Regions from separate parts of the Homo sapiens genome. Here all the other regions are linked to region 1. Evidence: promoter capture Hi-C in 16 types of primary human blood cells and fetal thymus (Javierre and others, 2016). All regions are on one chromosome and are shown on one strand. Each heading gives the region's core, a stretch centred on a gene start or on the middle of the fragment in contact. The rest is flanking DNA. Distances are from core to core; before and after follow the strand shown. Region 1 holds the start of CLPB (ClpB family mitochondrial disaggregase). Region 2 overlaps RNF121 (ring finger protein 121). Region 3 overlaps RNF121 (ring finger protein 121). Region 4 overlaps NUMA1 (nuclear mitotic apparatus protein 1). Region 5 holds the start of ANAPC15 (anaphase promoting complex subunit 15). Region 6 has its middle 3.5 kb from the start of FOLR3.

Region 1 (2,897 bases), core at 217-2,716:
CTGTGAAGGAAAATTAGGATGGGGTGCGTAGGATTACTATTTTAACCAGAATGGTCAGGGAAGACTCTGATCATGTGAAGTCTGAGCAGACGTACAAGACTTGGAAGAAACAGAACTGGCACAAAGAAGAACTTCCTCCTTTGCCTACCTATGGGTTCAGTTTGGAAAAGAGGGGGCGGGATGGGAGTGCAGGTGTTAATGGAAACTATATGCTCAAAATCAGAAGACCTGAGCATTACTTTACTCCAGGTGATTTACTGGCAAATCTTTTCACCTTTGAGCCTCAATTCCCTTCACTGTAGACGGGAATAACAGTTCTTGCCCAGCTTCTCACACACAGCTGCCATGAGGATCAGATGAGATGACCCACTTGAAAGCCCTTTAAAAATAACACAATCAGGGCCAGGCGCAGTGGCTCACGCCAGTAATCCCAGTACTTAGGGAGGCTGAGGCAGGTGGGTCGCTTGAGGTCAGGAGTTGGAGACCAGCCTGGCCAACATGGTGAAACCCCGTCTCTACTACTAAAAATACAAAAATTAGCCAAGCGTGGTGGTGCGTGCCTGTAATCCCAGCTACTCGGTAGGCTGAGGTGGGAGAATCGCTTGGACCAGGGAGACGGAGGTTGCAGTGAGCCGAGATGGCGCCACTGCACTCCAGTTTGGGCGGCAGAGTGAGATTCTGTCTCAAAAAAAAAAAAAAAAAAAAGACCGGAAGTCAACTCTTCAAATAAAATGTATTCCTATCTCAGGTGCAGTAGTTACCCTAAACATCTTTTTGAAAGGCCGCCCAGGCTGAAAAAAGAGATAGGCTAAACTAAATAAGCATAAGTTTCATAATATGCCTCTGCTGAAGATTCTTGGGTAATTTACACCAGTCAAAAATTGTGGGCCGGGCGCGGTGGCTCACGCTTGTAACCCCAGCATTTTGGGAGGCCGAGGCGGGCGGATCGCCTGAGGTCAGGAGTTAGAGACCAGCCTGGCCAACGTGGTGAAACCCCGTTTCCACTAAAAATACAAAAATTAGCTGGGCATGGTGGCGGGCGCCTGTAATCCCAGCTACTCGGGAGACTGAGGTAGGAGAATTGCTTGAACACAGGAGACGAAGGTTGCAGTGAGCCGAGATCGCGCCACGGCACTCCGGCCTGTGAGACAGAGCGAGACTCCGTCTCAAAAAAAAAAAAAAAAAAAAAGTGTGTCGTGTGCTTCAACTAAACTAGGAAAGAAGTCTTGGGATTCTAATCTTTAACTCTAATCGCCACGCCCCTTCACCCGAACTCTATTTCCCAATATGCCCCGGGCTTCTATAATCCCGCAGTCATTGTGACGCAATCCCACAGCCTTCTGGGAAACGTAGTTTATTTATTCTCCAGCTGGGGAAAGGCTTAGGGCTGTGGACTACCTCTCCCGTGAGGTAGTGCGCAACTCCACCCTGTTCGCGGCGTCTTCGAACGCGCCGCGGCAGCCATGTTGGACGTGGTCAGCACAGGGGCCGGCACCACGGGGTTATCGAAGCAGCTGTCAAGATGCTGGGGTCCCTGGTGTTGAGGAGAAAAGCACTGGCGCCACGGCTACTCCTCCGGCTGCTCAGGTCCCCAACGCTCCGGGGCCATGGAGGTGCTTCCGGCCGGAATGTGACTACTGGGAGTCTCGGGGAGCCGCAGTGGCTGAGGGTAGCCACCGGGGGGCGCCCTGGAACATCGCCGGCCTTGTTCTCCGGACGTGGGGCAGCCACCGGGGGGCGCCAGGGAGGACGCTTCGATACCAAATGCCTCGCGGCTGCCACTTGGGGACGCCTTCCTGGTCCCGAAGAAACACTCCCAGGACAGGACAGCTGGAACGGGGTCCCCAGCAGGGCCGGACTGGGCATGTGCGCCCTGGCCGCAGCGCTGGTGGTTCATTGCTACAGCAAGAGTCCGTCCAACAAGGGTGATTATGAGATCTGGGTTTGAGGAAGGGAGAGGCGGGAAGATTGTCCTAACTTCGTATCTTAGGAGGGTGGGAGGTACTTATAGGTTTAGATCCTTAGAGCCTAAGTCTTGGAGGGACTCAGACATCATCTGGTTACAGGGGCAGGGTGTTGCCCTAGAGACCTCATCACCTCGGAGTTGTATAATCTCGTACCATAGATCCGCTTCCCCTCTCTGGGCATCATTTTATCCATCTGTACAATGGGGATATTGGACTAAACATCTAATATTATAGCATGGTCCCCTTATGTTTCTCATATTCTGCCTGGTCCAATTCCTCTTTCCTGAGATCTCCAGGAAACGGAAATTATGGGGTGTTTTAAGGGCAACCGCCAGATGGTTTAGAGAAGTTGCCAAACCGCTCCCCCCTACCCCCCGCCACCAAAGGTGCCAGAGTCAGGAACAACCTGACTCGGTTCTAATGCCAGCTTGACCTCAATTTATTTATTTATTTATTTATTTATTTATTTATTTATTTATTTATTTATTTCTGAGATGGAGTCTTGCTCTGTCGCCAAGCTGGAGTGCAGTGGCGCAATCTCGGCCCACTGCAACCTCCGCCTCCCGGGTTCAAGCTATTCTCCTGCCTTAGCCTCCCAAGTAGCTGGGACTACAGGTGCGGGCCACCACACCCAGCTAATTTTTGTATTTTTAGTTGTTGGTCAGGATGGTCTCGATCTCTTGACCTCCTGATCCACCCGCCTTGGCCTCCCAAAGTACTGGGATTACAGGCGTGAGCCACCGCGTCTGACCAATTTCTTTATTTATATAGTGAAGGATAGTTTCCCAACATTTTTACAGTACTGTTATTTTGACTCTTTTTGGAGTTCAGCGGCCTGAGTCTGTCAGTCTCAGGATTTTGCTGTGTCTGGTCTCACATGCTGTGAGGTGATCTTGCCATGTGGGATAGTTGGCAGGAGAAGGAAGGTGG
Region 2 (2,897 bases), core at 287-2,786, 460 kb after region 1:
AAAATTTAGATACAGTATGACCTTACTCAAAACAACAGGGCTTGGCTGGGCGTGGTGGCTCACGCCTGTAATCCCAGCACTTTGGGAGGCCGAGGAGGGTGGATCACGAGGTCAGGAGATTGAGACCATCTTGGCTAACACGGTGAAACCCCGTCTCTACTAAAAATACAAAAAATTAGCCAGACACGATGGCAGGCACCTGTAGTCCCAGCTACTCAGGAGGCTGAGGCAGGAGAATGGCGTGAACCCGGGAGGCGGAGCTTGCAGTGAGCCGAGATAGCGCCACTGCAGTCTGGCCTGGGTGAAAGAGCAAGACTCCGTCTCAAAAACAAACAAACAAACAAACAAAAAAATACAGGGCTTTTGTTTTTTGTATTTTTCAAAATTTTCTGTTTTAAATTTTATATTTCTTCTTTTAAATTTATTTCTTTGGCCTCTTCCTTGTCAGTAGGGCTTTTGTTTTTTGGGGTTTTTTTGGTTTGTTTTTTTGTTTTTTGAGACAGAGTTTCACTCTTGTCACCCAGGCTAGAGTGCAGTGGCAGGATCTTGACTCACTGCAACCTCCACTGCCCGGGTTCAGGCAATACTCCTGCCTCAGCCTCCACAGTAGCTGGGATTACAGGCACCTGCCACCACATCCGGCTAATTTTTGTATTATTAGTAGAGACGGGGTTTTACCATGTTGGTCAGGCTGGTCTTGAACTCCCAACCTCAGGTGATCTGCCCGCCTCGGCCTCCCAAAGTGCTGGGATTACAGGCATGAGCCACCGCGCCCGGCCTGTTTTTTGTTTTTGAGACAGGGTCTCACTCTGTTGCCCAGGCTGGAGTGCAGTGGCACAATCACAGCCCACTGCAGCCTCAACCTCCCAGGCTCAAGTGATCCTCCCATCTCAACCTCCTAAGTAGCTGGGACTACAGGCCTATGCTACTACAACCAGCTAATTTTTTCTTTTTTAAGAGATTGGGTCTTACTACGTTGCCCAGGCTGGTCTCAAACTCCTGGGCTCAAGCTATCCTTCCACTCCAGTCTCCCAAAATGCTGGAATTACAGGCATGAGCCACTATGCCCAGCCTACATTTCCCTCTTTTTTTTTTTTGAGATGGAGTTTCACTCTTGTTGCCTAGGCTGGAGTGCAAAGGCACAGTCTCGGCTCACCACAACCTCCGCCTCTTGGATTCAAGCGATTCTCCTGCCTCAGCCTTCCGAGTAGCTGGGATTACAGGCATGCACCACCATGTCCGGCTAACAGTGTATTTTTAGTAGAGACAAGGTTTCTCCATGTTGGTCAGGATGGTCTCCAACTCCTGACCTCACGTGATCCGCCTGCCTCGGCCTCCCAAAGTGCTGGGATTATAGGCATGAGCCACCGCACCCAGCCGCCCAGCCTATGTTTCTCTTAATGTGAAGGTTGGGCTTGAGCTCCTAAGTTATGGACAGTAATGTGATACTTCTCAGTGGGCTGGCATACTGCTCATCATCAGTCTCATAGCTTGCAATATCCATGTTGCTCTAGGTCCTAGAGCCTAGGACAGTGTTTCTCATCAGGGATGATTTTGTTTCCCAGGGGACATTTGGCAGTCTGGAGACATCTGGTTGTTACAAGTGCAGAAGGGTGCCAGTATCATCTAGTGGACAGAGGGTAGGGATGCTATTAAACATCCTATAATATACAGGACAGCCCCCGAGAAAAAAAGAATTATATGGCCCAAAATGCCAACAGTTCCTCTGTTGAGAAACCTTGGTCTAGGAGAACAGAGCTAGTGTTTTTCCACTCAGTGGTCATTGGATGCCCACTAAAAGGCTGCGCCACCAACCTGCACTAGTGAAGGACAAAAAGTTTCATTCAGTTTGAAAGAAACAGAGCCTTATCAAATAATTCCATCATTTCTTGGAATGCCATAAGAGGCATTTTTTTAAAAGCTCTAATGGCTAATCTCAAACAGTTCATGTTTCTACTACTCAACAACAATCCCAGTGCCTTTCCTTTACACAACATTCTCCGGGGAGTCTTCCTGATTCTCTTTTATTACTATTCCTCACCCCAGACATTCTAATGTGCTTCACATGTATATTTTTGTTTGTACCTGTTCATGCAAACTGTTTATTGCTTTCTCTGCTTGTATTTTTATTAATTGGCATTGTGTTACACATCTTTCTGTTTCTTAGTTTTTCCACTCAGTACTATGCTTTTAAGGTCCTCCCAAGTTCCTACAGGTACTTAATGTATTGCTTTTAACTGTAAAACAATTTCATGATATGCATCCGTCACATTTTACCTATTTACTCCCTCAGAGATAGATATCCAGATTGCCTCCAACTCCTCAATGTTCAGCCATAATTAACACTTCAGTGAACACCCTCTTACATATCCCCTTAGGATGTGTCACAGGGTATGTGTATATTCGCTGACTCAGCAATGCCATGCTGCTATCCACAATGCCTGTACCATACCCACAAAAAAGTACAAGAAAGCTCCTACAGCCTTTGATCCTTGCCAACACTTGGCACTATTCAGCTTTCTAGCTTTTGCCAACCTAATAGATGTAAAGTGATATCTCATATTTTTATGTGCATTTCTCTAATTACTAATGACTCTGAGCATCTCTTTTCATGCTTAATGGCCTTTTGGGTTTCCTTTCCTGTAAATGTGTTCATATCTCTGGCCTGTTTTTCTATTGGAGTTGCTGTCTTTTGTTGATTTGTAGGAGTTTCTCTGGATAAATATTAATCTACTGTCAGTTTTAATCATTACTCATCTATTCTCCATTCAGTTTCAGTTAACTCTGCCTATCATATCTTTAACAGAACAGAAATCCTTAATTTATAAAATCAAATTTATCGAATCTTTCTTACTTGCTTATATTTTTATTTTTAAAAAAGTTCATTTACTTATTTA
Region 3 (2,897 bases), core at 126-2,625, 440 kb after region 1:
TGGATCAGCACCAAAGGATAAGGGGAAGGGGAGGGAGAAGGACTTGGGGCTGGTGATCAAAAGCTGTGTCAGGCAAGCCATTCTGTCGCCAGACTATGGTTCCACCAGAAATGGACAACAATATTCTCCAACATTTAAAACAGTGAAATATTAAGTGCCATGTTGGTTTGGTGACAAGGGCATTCTCAGACATTTGTGGCAGCAGCAAAAGGGGTTCAAGCCTTTCAGATAGGATTTAGCATGGTATCTCAAATTGTTGCACCTTTTGACCCATTAATTTCACTTCAAGGAATTTAAAGAAATAAGAGGAGGCTGGGCGCGGTGGCTGACGCCTGTAACCCCAGCACTTTGGGAGGCCAAGGAGGGCGGATCACGAGGTCAGGAGATCGAGAGCATCCTAACTAACACAGTGAAACCCCGTCTCTACTAAAAATACAAAAAATTAGCCAGGCATGGTGGGGGGCGCCTGTAGTCCCAGCTACTCAGGAGGCTGAGGCAGGAGAATGGCGTGAACCCGGGAGGCAGAGCTTGCAGTGAGCCGAGATCGCACCACTGCACTCCAGCCTGGGCAACAGACCGAGACTCCATCTCAAAAAAAAAAAAAAAAAGAGGAAGTGTCAAAGAAGCTTCATGAATACAGATATTCACTTAAGCATTATCATAATTAAGAAAGCAAAGAGTTTGGCATGTCCTCAAAAAGTTAAACATAAAATTACCAAATGACCAAGCAATTCCATTCTCGGTATAAACCCAAAAGATATGAAACTAGGGACTAAACACACTTAAACGCCAGTGCTCACAGCGTTACTCACAGTAGCCAAAAAGTGGAAACAACTCAAGTGCCTATCCACAGATGAATGAATAAACCAAATGCGGTGTCACACACAATGGAATACTATTCAGCCATATAAAGGAATGATACATTCTATACATGGATGAACTCTGAAAACACTACGCTAAGTGAAAAAAGCCAAAGGGACAAATATTGTATGATTCCATTTACATGAAATATCTACAATAGGCATGTTCACAGAGATGGAAAGTATATTAGAGGTAAACCAGGGCTGTGGGAAGGGGTAATGAGTTACTGCTTAATGGGCAGAGTTTCTGTTTGGGATGAAGAAAAATTTTGGAATTAGACAGTGAAAATGTTGCAGAACACTGCAAATGTAATTAATGCATGAATTGTATACTTCAAAATGGTCAAAATGGTGACATGGTCTAGAAATCTCTTCTGGGGAGTAAACTGGTTAAAGGAAGATCCAATGTCTACACAAATAGGTAAGAGGGAAATGAAGGTAAAGCACAAGACAGTTGTTCAAAAAGGAACCTAATAAACTGTCAATAAAGTGATCCAATGTACTGTTTTCAATTTGATCCAGTAGAGAAAAAATTAGAATATTCCCATGATACTGAGGGACAAAGTCCCTGGCCTTAAACGGTACTAGATTAAAGTTACCCAAGGTGATGGAAATATTCCTTCTTGGGGTGGGGTCTTGGGGGATGACACTGAGACAGGGAGCACTTCTGTGTTGTTTAAATAATTACAAAGAGAACATACTACTTTTATAAACAGCAAAACAATAAAGATATATTTCCATTCTGAAAAAAAAAATAGAAATATTTACTTGCGTTTCTCAGATTGGCTGTTAATTTACCCATATTTAAGCATCTCTCCGTGATGTCCACCTGCTGCTCTTGCAGCATTTCCTATCTCAGTGAAAGGTACTACCATCCAAGCAGTTGCCGAATCAGAAATCTCAGCTTTGAAACCTATATTTCCTTTGTATTTTTCCCTTCAGTCTTCAGAACCAAACTATATCTAAGTCCAAAATACTTCTCAAATACAGTATGTCCTCACTTCACTGACAGTTTCTTGGAAACTGTGACTTTAAATGAAACGACATATAACAAAACCAATTTTACCACAGGCTAATTGATAGAAACAAGAGTTCAGTTCCTGTGTCATATTTCTGTCACAAAGACATCACTAAACCTCTATTTAAGAGACACCAAATTGTCTCTTAAGTAAAGACTCAAAACACTTTTAATATTAAATGTTGAAATGAAATGTGTAGCTTTACACATACAGTTAAAGATTAACAAAGCAAGTATGAAAGCTTCCCCAATTTTTGGTAAAGCAGTAAGTGACAGTGGCTGTTGTTGTAGCGGCTGTGGGTTAAATCAAGGAATAAGAGTTCACAAAGTAAAAATTGTAAGGAGCAACTCCTACCACTGTGCAGTTCAAAAACAATTACCAATATGGACTAAGCACTTTTGTGCCCCATCATTTATTGTTGTGCCTTTGCATGATTATTATACATTTTGTGAATTTTTACTTATTTAGAGACAACGTCTTGCTCTGTTGCCCAGGCTGGAGTTTGGTGGCATGAACAAGCTCACTGCAAGGCTCAAGTGACTTCCCACCTTGGTCTCCAAAGTAGCTGGGACTACAGGCATGTGCCACCACGCCCGGCTAGGTTTTTTTTTTTTTTGTCTCATTTTTTTGTAGAGATGGGGTCTCACTATGGTGCTCAGGCTGGTCTTGAACTCCTGGGCTCAAGCAATCTGCCTGCCTCAGCCTCCCAAAGTGAGCCACTGTGCCCGGCCCCTCCCAGGATTTTTAGCATAAAAATCAAAATCTTTAATTTGGCCCACAGGCTTTTTTCTAGTCTAGTCACTACTTCTCCAGGCACTTCTTGGCCATACAACCGCAATGGTCTTAGTTCCTCAAAAACACCCACACTTTCTCCCGTGACAGGACTCTTATGAATGCTCTTTCCTCTGCCTGGTTCTCACTTCATCCACTTAACTGCTATTCATTGTTCAAGTCAGCTCCATAGTCACTTCTTCAAGGAAGCCATCTTTGAGCCCCAAGACTAGGTCAAATGACACTA
Region 4 (2,897 bases), core at 261-2,760, 360 kb after region 1:
TATGGGGGTAAGGTTTGTGAGGAGAGGCGCCTGAGAGGGAGGAGCCGGGGGGGGGGGGGGTGCCTTAAAGGGGAGGGTCTGTTTGGGGGCGTGTCTGTGGAATTAAATCTGAAGGTGACTGGGGTCGGGGGTATAGGGCAAGTTCCCGAAAGGCTTGTAAGCGAGGGGTCGGGTCCTGGAAAGTCTTTGCCTTTTATCGTTAACAATAGCAGTAGTTATGGTAGTGCAGTAGTCAGCATTTTCTGAGCTACACCGTCCACAATGACCTGCCAAATGTTTATCTTTTTAATCTTCTAACCACCTGTTATACTTTAAAGATGGGGAGCCTGAGGTTTATAATGTTTAGCTTGGCCCGGGTTACGTAGCCAGTGCGAGGTTGGCTCTACTTTGGGTTTATGGGTTGGGCATAAATGGGGACGGGGAAGGTGCTTTGTGGGGGCGCGCGTTGTCTTGGACTGGTCAGTGTATTTTGAGCCTCACTTTTCATATATGTAAACAATGACCTTACCTGCCTTACCTACTTCCTGGGGTGGTTGTCCTGGTCAAAACAGGTTAAGTCTTTTTTTTTTTTTTTTTTAATTTTTGTTTGTTTTTGTTTTTCATCCATGGACTCTCACAGATAACATGTTTCATACACGCACCTCGGAGAGTACAAATTTATGACTATAAGTGGTGTGACTGTGTGAAGATTGTGGGTGGGCGGGAGCCCACTGGGTTGATGCTGCCGCCTCTGGGTACTCTCTTTTGCTTACCTCTGAGTTAGCACTTGTCATTTTTTTTTTTTTTTGAGACGGAGTCTCGCCCTATCGCCCAGGCCGGAGTGCAGTGGCGCGATCTCGGCTCACTGCAACCTCTGCCACCCGGGTTCAAACAGTTCCCTGCCTCAGCCTCCCGAGTAGCTGGGATTACAGGCGCCCGCTACCACACCCGGCTAACTTTTGTATTTTTAGTAGACACAGGGTTTCACCATCTTGGCCAGGCCGGTCTTGAACTCTTGACCTCGTGATCCGCCCGCCTCGGCTTCCCAAAGTGCTTGGGATTACAGGCGTGAGCCATCACGCCCGGCCTGCCATCTGGTATTTTAAAAGTCTGCGTGTTTGTCTGCCCTTCTAGATAACGAGAGACTTTTTCGTCACTGTATCCTAATGGCTAGGCAGGATTTGCGACATGTAATGGGAATAAATGTATGCTTTGGAATAATTTCTTGGGCTGAAAGGGCACAGGAATTTCGCTTTCCCGTTTTCATTTAGTGGCATTTGAACCTCAGTATTAAGCTGTCCTCTTTACTGGAATGGCACTCCCTCTTGAAAACGTGATGATATTTTCTTGCTTTAATACATAATTCCCTCTCTCTAGTATCTGTTGCCTGGTTCTATGTTTCCAAACTTCTGGGTTGTCTGGTCGTTAAAGCTTTAATGGTAAGGGAGTTGGGCCTCTCTGCTTTGTGGAGATCTTTACTGCTGTGAATATATGGGAACCTGGGGCGAACATGAGGATCATGTAAGGTAGCTTTCTGTCAGCACAGATGGGTTTATGTTTCCTCAGTCCCTCTTTCTGTGTGGTATTTTCTTCTTTAGAGGAAGAACCACATACTTTTTTGTGAAAGCTTCCAAAGTATTCTTTTCGTAGCCTAAGTTCTAGCAAGGGATGACTAATTGTAATGTCTAAGCTCTTAGTTCACAGCGAAAAGCGGTACATTCCAAAAGCTTAAAGATCTTACCTGAAAGCTCGTTAAGAAACGTAGAATTCTTTTTTACATGTGGAACATGGAAGTGGGAAGAATGCCTTGAAATAAGACTTGAATTCTAGAACTTTTAGGATGAGGGCAAAGCCCTGCTCAGGTGGCTGAACAGAGCTGATCAGGGGCTGTTTGGACAGCTGTGTCTAATTGATAAAACTATGATCAGAAGATATTAGGTTTGTGCAAAAGTAATTGCAGTTATTGCCATTGAAAGTAATGGCAAAAACCACAGTTACTTTTGCATTAACCTAATATATGGTGTGGTCATTTAATTTAGCCTCTTACCCAGTGTACACTAAACATACCAAAAGGTGTTGTCCAGACTCAAAATGAGTACTTTCTAGAATGAGATCATTCCCAAAGTCAATCCATCTCTAAGCTGAACAATTCTAATTGATAATTATTATTTTGTAGCTGGGCATGGTGGCTTGCCCTGTCATCCCAACTACTCTGGAGGCTGAGGCAGGAGGAGCAGGCGGGAGAATGGCTTGAGCCCAGGAGTTCTTAGCTAGCCTGGGCAACAGAGTGAGACCCCAACACAATTAAAATATGTTTATTGTTTTGTATTGTTAGTGATTATTTCATTTTACCCATGTATGTCTACTGTTTGCTTTTTCACTATTTTTCCTTGCATTTTATTCCTTCCTTTTTTATTGCATAGATACATACATCCTTCAGATGTTTGTCCAGTGGGAATCTGTTAGTGGTAAACACTGTCTTCATTTAAAAAATCTTTATTTCACTTTCAGTTTTTTGTTTTTTTTTTTTTTTTGAGATGGAGTCTCACTCTGTTGCCCAGGCTGGAGTGCAGTGGCACAGTCTCGGCTCACTGCAAGCTCCGCCTCCCAGGTTCACACCATTCTCCTGCCTCAGCCTCCCGAGTAGCTGGGACTACAGGCGCCCGCAACCACGCCTGGCTAATTTTTTGTATTTTTAGTAGAGACAGGGTTTCATTGTGTTAGCCATGATGGTCTCGATCCCCTGACCTTGTGATCCTCCCGCCTCGGCCTCTCAGAGTGCTGGGATTATAGGCATGAGCCACTGTGCCCAGCTCACTTTCAGTCTTGATTGGTAGTTTAGCTGGGTACTAGGCTTCCAATTATTGTCTCTTAGCACTTTGAAAGTGTTTTTTCATTGAAATTCTGGCTTTTTGTTG
Region 5 (2,897 bases), core at 398-2,897, 320 kb after region 1:
CTGTAAATCAGATTGTGTGGACCCTGTGCTCACAACCCTCCACTGGCTCCCCAACTCCTCATCTCCTACCTATTACTCTCCCTAGAGGACACTATGCCCAAGCCATTCTAGGCCCTCTGCACTTGTATTCTCTCTCTCTGAAATGCTCTTCCACAAATATCAGAAGGCTCTCTGCTCCTTCAGACCTTTACTCAAAAGTCACCTTCCCAGTGACTTTGGCCCCCCAGTCTGAAATAAAACACCTCCCCTGCAAATATTTTATTCCCACTTCTCAGATTTATTTTTTCTCTTATTTACTGCAATCTTACAACTACATATTTTATTTATCTATCTTCTTTATTGTTTACCTCTCTCAGAATGAAGGCTGCATGAAAAGAGGGACTTTTTTGGTCTGTTTTGTTTACTATTGTATACCCACTACTAAGAATAGTGATGGACATATACTAAGGCACTCAGTAGGTATTTGTTGAATGAATGAAAAAGGTAGTCATTTCCAAGAGGCAAAGTTTACTCTTTAATGAAAAACTATAACAAACAGTGCTATTTGGCAATATAATCACATTCAATATGCACAGTACACGACCTCTTGAACAATTCTTATCCAATCTTCACATCAGCCCAGGATAGAAGGAAGGCTGGGCAGAGATTATGATGCTGGTTGACAAAGAAGCTGAGTCCAGAGAGAGGAAAAGGAATTGCCAAAACTCACACATCTGGCCAGGACAGTACTGGAAATGCGGATAACTGCTGTCCCTGAAAGAGGCTGGTAAGTGATGGAGTTTAATAGGAATTGGGTTTGAAGGACCTCTGTTGCCAGAAAGCATGAGTATCTCTAAAGGCGAAGCTGAGTCAGAGGTTACTAGAACAGAGGCATCAGCAAAGGATGGGAGAGGTGACGAGGGCGATCTCTAAGTGTACTTGGCCCAGGCCTGAGGAGGGCAGCTGATTCCCCCAGCAACAGAATGCTGTGCCTGAGGCTAACTAGTCATTCAAGTCTGTACATAATCTCCAATGTCAAAACTCAACAAGCAACCTTAAGAGAGACCACTAAGTCTACTGCATGTCTGCAGGGTTTGGCTTCCCTGGACTGTGAGGTCTTCCAGGGAAGCGACCATATTCCTAGATTTATCCCCAGTTTCTAGCAAGGCCTGGAATATAGTAATATTGTAACTCTAATATTTTTGTTCAGAGCAAAAATAAAAAAGAATGAATATGCTCAAACGGGAAACTGTAGCTGAGAGAGCACAGATAGGAGGGGCCTAACATCAACCAGCAATTCTGAAGTAGTAACAGATTAGTTTTCTGGGATGCAGCAGGACGAATGGCCCTCGCACTAAAAGGTTGCTGTCAGCTCTTCTTCAGAAGGGGTTAACAAGCAAATGGTGACTGGCAACAAAAGGGCAGGGGTTAAACGGGGCAGTGGTTAAACGAGACCGTAGTGCTGGCGCCAGGATGGAGACGCCGACTGGCTGAGACTCAAGGCGGGGCAGATAGGTAGGCGCGGCACACTTCCTTCCCTAACAATGTGACTAAGGTAGGTCAACGTCACATCCGGTTTAGTGGGCGGGAGCGGGGAAAACAAAAGGAGACGAAGGACGCATGCGTTTGGTGAGTCCCGGATTCTGGTGGGTTCTTCCGCTCAGGCTGGGTGAAGCGCTTCCGGGTCGCCGCCGGCAGCAGCCTCCCGGCGCGGTAAGTACAGACGCAAGGCTGCAACCGTCTCCTTGCCCCTTCATTCCTTTTTCCCCCAGAGAAACCCATTTCCTTTGACCCGACTCCCCAGGAGCTCCATATTGAGAGTCCTTAACCCTTAAAGAGCTCCAGCTCATTGGCCGCTTCCTCGAGACTAAGCCCCACCCCGTCACACAAGGTCCGTCATTCATTGGTGTCACTTCCTGTCACCCAGCATTTCTTTCAGTTAATTGGTCCTACCCAGGCCCCGCTTTTTTCGCGTTTAGCAACCCTATAAGGCCAAATTTCTGTCTGAGACCCGCCCTGCTTTCTTTCTGTTGGTCAACTGCATGGTCATTATCGTAATGAGCAAAGAAAGGGCGGTGGCTTTGCGACGGTGGGTTGGGCTTTCGGAGCCGAGATCGCTGGTCTGTCAGTACTTCTTGGACATGAGGGTGTTTACCGTCGTGCCTAATTACGCGGGTTGGGAATCTGAGATACAGGGAAGGGCAGCGGCTGGCCCTGGGTCGGTCAGATAAATTAAGACAAAAGCAGGACCAGGCATCGATTATTTTCTCCTGCTCATCCCTTTCACGGAGGAATTCTAAGCCCCGACACACTGTATGACCTAAAGCCAGTCTCTGCCTGTCGCTGGGCCTCAGTTCGCCTGTCCTAAGTTTAATTCAGATTATCTGGCACTCCTGGTCGGCTCCCTCAGCCGCTCAAAGCTGATTGTACCCTTATAATGTTAGTTCATCCATTCAATCTTCCATCTACTTATTTATCCACTTATTCATGCCTCCTAGAATGTCTTACTGAACCCTGCTTGCATATGCTACAATCCCTCCACCCCGACATTTGGCTGTGATTCATGAGAGGTCGTTAGTGTCCTAAATTTCTGACACTGGGTGGGTGTGGTATGGGCCATCATAAAGGGTCAAAAAGCAGGTTTTAGTGTGTGGAGGAGGTAGGGATAGTTTCAGTAGAACCCTGCTACCTCTAATTTTGTATAATTTCATAATGCCAGTCTGCATTCTGGATTCCTATCCCTACACTTGACTCCCATTCTCATCCCTCCTTGAACAGCCTGCAAACAGCTTTGTTGATCCATTATTTACTTAATTATCAGAATAACTTTGACAGTGGTATAATTGTTATTATCCCCATTTTACAGATGAAGACACTGAGGCTCAGAGAGGTTAAGTGACTCAGCCAAGGTCAAACAG
Region 6 (2,897 bases), core at 143-2,642, 300 kb after region 1:
GTGATGGCACCACTGTACTGTCAGAGTGAGACCCTGTCTCAGCAAAAAAAGAAGAAGGAAAAGGAGAAGGAGAAGAAGAAGAAAGAAGAAGAAGAAGAAGAAGAGGAAGAAGAAGAAGAAGAAGAAGAAGAAGAAGAAGAAGAAGAAGAAGAAGGAGAAGAAGAAGAAGAAGAAATAAGGAAACAAAGAAAGTTAGGAAAGAGAACTTCATGTTTTCAAGTTAAAAGTGCCTAATGCTTGGTTTGTATTTCTCCAACACTCTTGGAGGCAGTAGAACTGCTACTAACCTGGGAAGACGACCGGCACTGCCCCTGTGTATTGCTTATGTAGTGTGAAGTGATGTTTTCCCATTATGATGTTGGGAACATTTCCAATACTGTCATCATTTACTCAGCTAGTAGAGAGCCTCTCCTGAGGCAGAGCCTGTGTTTTCAGTCTGACCTCAGTATCTGGTCCTGCTACAGGTGAGTCTGAGGTGACAAGACCAGTGTCTAGTTATGAAGCCCTTGCCTCCCCAGGGCTCCATTATGGATGAGTCCTGCACCATAGTCAGCAGCCCTCTGCCCTCCCTCCATTGCACCCACCTATGACTCTTCTCTTCTTTTCAATGCCCTCCCCCAACAACCTCTGCCTGTGACTTTGAATGTGTTGTGGGGGTCTTTGCAGAAGAATCGCCCACCTGAGTTTTGGCCAAATTCCTGACTCACAACATCTTGGAATATAATAAAATAGTTACTATTTCAAGCAACTATGTGTATTTGATTTTTAAACTTTTTGTTTTGAAATAATTTTAGATTTGCAGAAAAACTGCAAAACATCGTCAAAAGATTTCCCGTATGTTTTTATGCAACTTCCCCAAATATTGGCATCTTATGTAACCAAAGCCCAGTTCTTAAAAAAATCAGGAAATTAATATTGAGGCAATACTGTTAACTAATCTACAAGCTTTATGCCCTTTACACCAGTTTCCCCCCCAATGTCCTTTCTCTGGCCCAGGATTCAGTCCATGATTCCAGGTTGCATGTAGTTGTCATGTCCCCTTAGTCTCCCTCCAATCTGTGACAGTTCCTCAATGTCTTTGTCTTTTATGACCTTGACACTTTTGGAGAATTACTGTTCAGTTATTTTGCAGAATGTCCCTCAATTTGGGTTTGTCTATATTTTCCTGTAATTAGCTTGAGCTTATGCATTTTGGCAAGAAAATTAGAGAAGAGAGGTGCTTTTGTCAGTGCATCATATCAAGAGGTACATGATGAGGGTTGCTGCATCTTATTGCTGGTGATTATTGGGTTAAGGAGATTTCCTTACTATATAATTATTAGTTTCCCTTTGTTAGTAATCCTACCTTGTAGGGAGACACTCTGAGACTATGTGAATATCCTTTTCATCCACTTAGTTTAACATTGTCTGCAGCAATACACCACAAAATTATGGAATGATTTGTTATGCAGCAACAGACAACTAGTAAACCCATGAGAGTTAGTATTGTGTTTCTTAAACTCTGAGGAAACAATTTGGCTTATAACCTTAGTTTAGCCACACAGCAGTTACTCTTTCTACAACAAAATTCCCAGGAAAAACAGAGTACTTATCATATTAATCTTTAAATTAAATCACTTATAAAAGTGAGTAGTTATAATAGTCAAACTTACTTTACCCTCTGTGAACATTCTGCATGATGGATTTGAGACAGTGGACTGAATAATTGCTCAGGAAATCAGCACTACCTCAGTTACTTTCTGATGGGTCCTCATAGTACAATAAACAGGAGATTTCATAGACAGAAATACGGGCTCTTCAAGGCTTCTTCAATCATGAGAATGTTTCTGAGAAGCTTCTGAGCAAATACTTCTATGGAAGCTGATCACAGATCTGAGGTCTTTGCACTTCATAATTATTCTGTCAATCACAGTCATATTAATTCCTCCTCTGCACATGTATCAATAGCATTACGCCCACAGGGTCCAAAAAGAAAGAGGTATGTCCTCAACCAACGAATTTCTGATATTACAGGCTTCATAAAATTCATGCCCTCCAATCCCAGGCTCCACTATCGTGGCCAAGGCCAGGTCTGGCTGAGTTGCCAATGGTGCTAAAGACTCTACTAAAGATTCAGGTGAATGCCAAGGCCAGCCTTCATCCAAGTGACCAGAATATCTTTAATGAATGTCTGGTTTTCAGTAGCCTCTAGATAAAAGGCACACTGATTTGCTACACCTACAACTATAGCCGTTGCCTTTTTGCTCGTTGTTTTGACCTGAAACTTAATCATGGGCGTGGCCTCTCTTTAAGGCTTTCTATCTCAGGTACCAAAGATGATGGCAAGAACAAAGTGTCTGTCCACTACATCAAAGATCAGATGGTTATCCGAGTCCAGCATCTAGGTGCACTGAGCCCCAGGGAGTCCAGGCAACTGTTGAGGGTAGATGGGCCAATCTTTATTTTACCTTATTTTTTATTTTTAGGAGACAGGGTCTCACTCTGTCACCCCAGCTGGAGTGCAGTGGCACCATCATGGCTCACTGCAGCCTCAACCTCCCTGAGTATCTGGGACTACAGGCACGCACCACCACGCCCAGCTAATTTTTGTATTTTTGTAGAGAGGAGGTTTCGCCATGTTGCCCAGGCTGGTCTTCAACTCTTGGGCTCAAACAATCCTCCAACCTAGGCCTCCCAAAATACTGGGACTACAGGGGTGAGCCACCACGCCCGGCCAAGATGGGCCAATCATGAGTCTTGCCCAAATTCTTGGGCAAAATCTCACAAAATCTTGAAGTATAATTAAACTCACAAAATCTTGAAGTATAAGTAAATAAGTATTGTGTTTTTGTTTTGTTTTGTTTTGAGACAGAGTCTTGCTCTGTCCCCCAGGCTGGAGTGCAGTGGTGTGATCTCAG

Evidence for each region. The method cuts DNA at HindIII sites, captures the fragments that hold promoters and counts their contacts. A CHiCAGO score of 5 or more calls a contact.
Region 2: a fragment that was not itself captured here is called in contact with the fragment with the promoter of CLPB in region 1 in 2 of 17 cell types (fetal thymus and naive CD8 T cells); the score reaches 6.3 in fetal thymus.
Region 3: a fragment that was not itself captured here is called in contact with the fragment with the promoter of CLPB in region 1 in 3 of 17 cell types (M0 macrophages, M1 macrophages and M2 macrophages); the score reaches 8.0 in M0 macrophages.
Region 4: a contact is called between a fragment that was not itself captured here and the fragment with the promoter of CLPB in region 1, in 1 of 17 cell types (fetal thymus). The highest score is 6.2, in fetal thymus.
Region 5: the fragment with the promoter of ANAPC15 here is called in contact with the fragment with the promoter of CLPB in region 1 in 1 of 17 cell types (M0 macrophages); the score reaches 5.1 in M0 macrophages.
Region 6: a contact is called between a fragment that was not itself captured here and the fragment with the promoter of CLPB in region 1, in 1 of 17 cell types (M1 macrophages). The highest score is 6.2, in M1 macrophages.

Annotation. Positions count from the first base shown.
Region 1 is chr11:72,433,100-72,435,996 of GRCh38, reverse strand. CLPB (ClpB family mitochondrial disaggregase) reads left to right here and starts at 1,466. Exons shown (of 16, transcript NM_001258392.3): 1 at 1,466-1,925. The coding sequence starts at 1,523. RefSeq lists enhancers at 515-1,321, 1,385-1,844. The HindIII fragment of the contact is 13,854 bases long and covers 1-2,897 here.
Region 2 is chr11:71,971,387-71,974,283 of GRCh38, reverse strand. The region is part of intron 3 of RNF121 (ring finger protein 121); the gene reads right to left. Among named protein-coding and RNA genes, the nearest start is that of IL18BP, 26 kb to the left of the region's middle. The HindIII fragment of the contact is 4,567 bases long and covers 1-2,897 here.
Region 3 is chr11:71,991,553-71,994,449 of GRCh38, reverse strand. All of the region lies in intron 6 of RNF121 (ring finger protein 121), which reads right to left. Among named protein-coding and RNA genes, the nearest start is that of IL18BP, 5.9 kb to the left of the region's middle. RefSeq lists enhancers at 2,654-2,713, 2,894-2,897. The HindIII fragment of the contact is 1,494 bases long and covers 629-2,122 here.
Region 4 is chr11:72,077,430-72,080,326 of GRCh38, reverse strand. All of the region lies in intron 1 of NUMA1 (nuclear mitotic apparatus protein 1), which reads left to right. Among named protein-coding and RNA genes, the nearest start is that of NUMA1, 1.7 kb to the left of the region's middle. RefSeq lists an enhancer at 1-374. The HindIII fragment of the contact is 196 bases long and covers 1,413-1,608 here.
Region 5 is chr11:72,111,445-72,114,341 of GRCh38, reverse strand. It overlaps ANAPC15 (anaphase promoting complex subunit 15), which reads left to right and starts at 1,647. Exons shown (of 6, transcript NM_014042.3): 1 at 1,647-1,692; 2 at 2,846-2,897. RefSeq lists enhancers at 764-1,301, 1,609-1,668, 1,769-1,828, 1,302-1,839, 1,999-2,168 and 1 more and a silencer at 1,421-1,638. The HindIII fragment of the contact is 5,139 bases long and covers 1-2,897 here.
Region 6 is chr11:72,130,824-72,133,720 of GRCh38, reverse strand. It overlaps the pseudogene RPEP6. Among named protein-coding and RNA genes, the nearest start is that of FOLR3, 3.5 kb to the left of the region's middle. The HindIII fragment of the contact is 889 bases long and covers 948-1,836 here.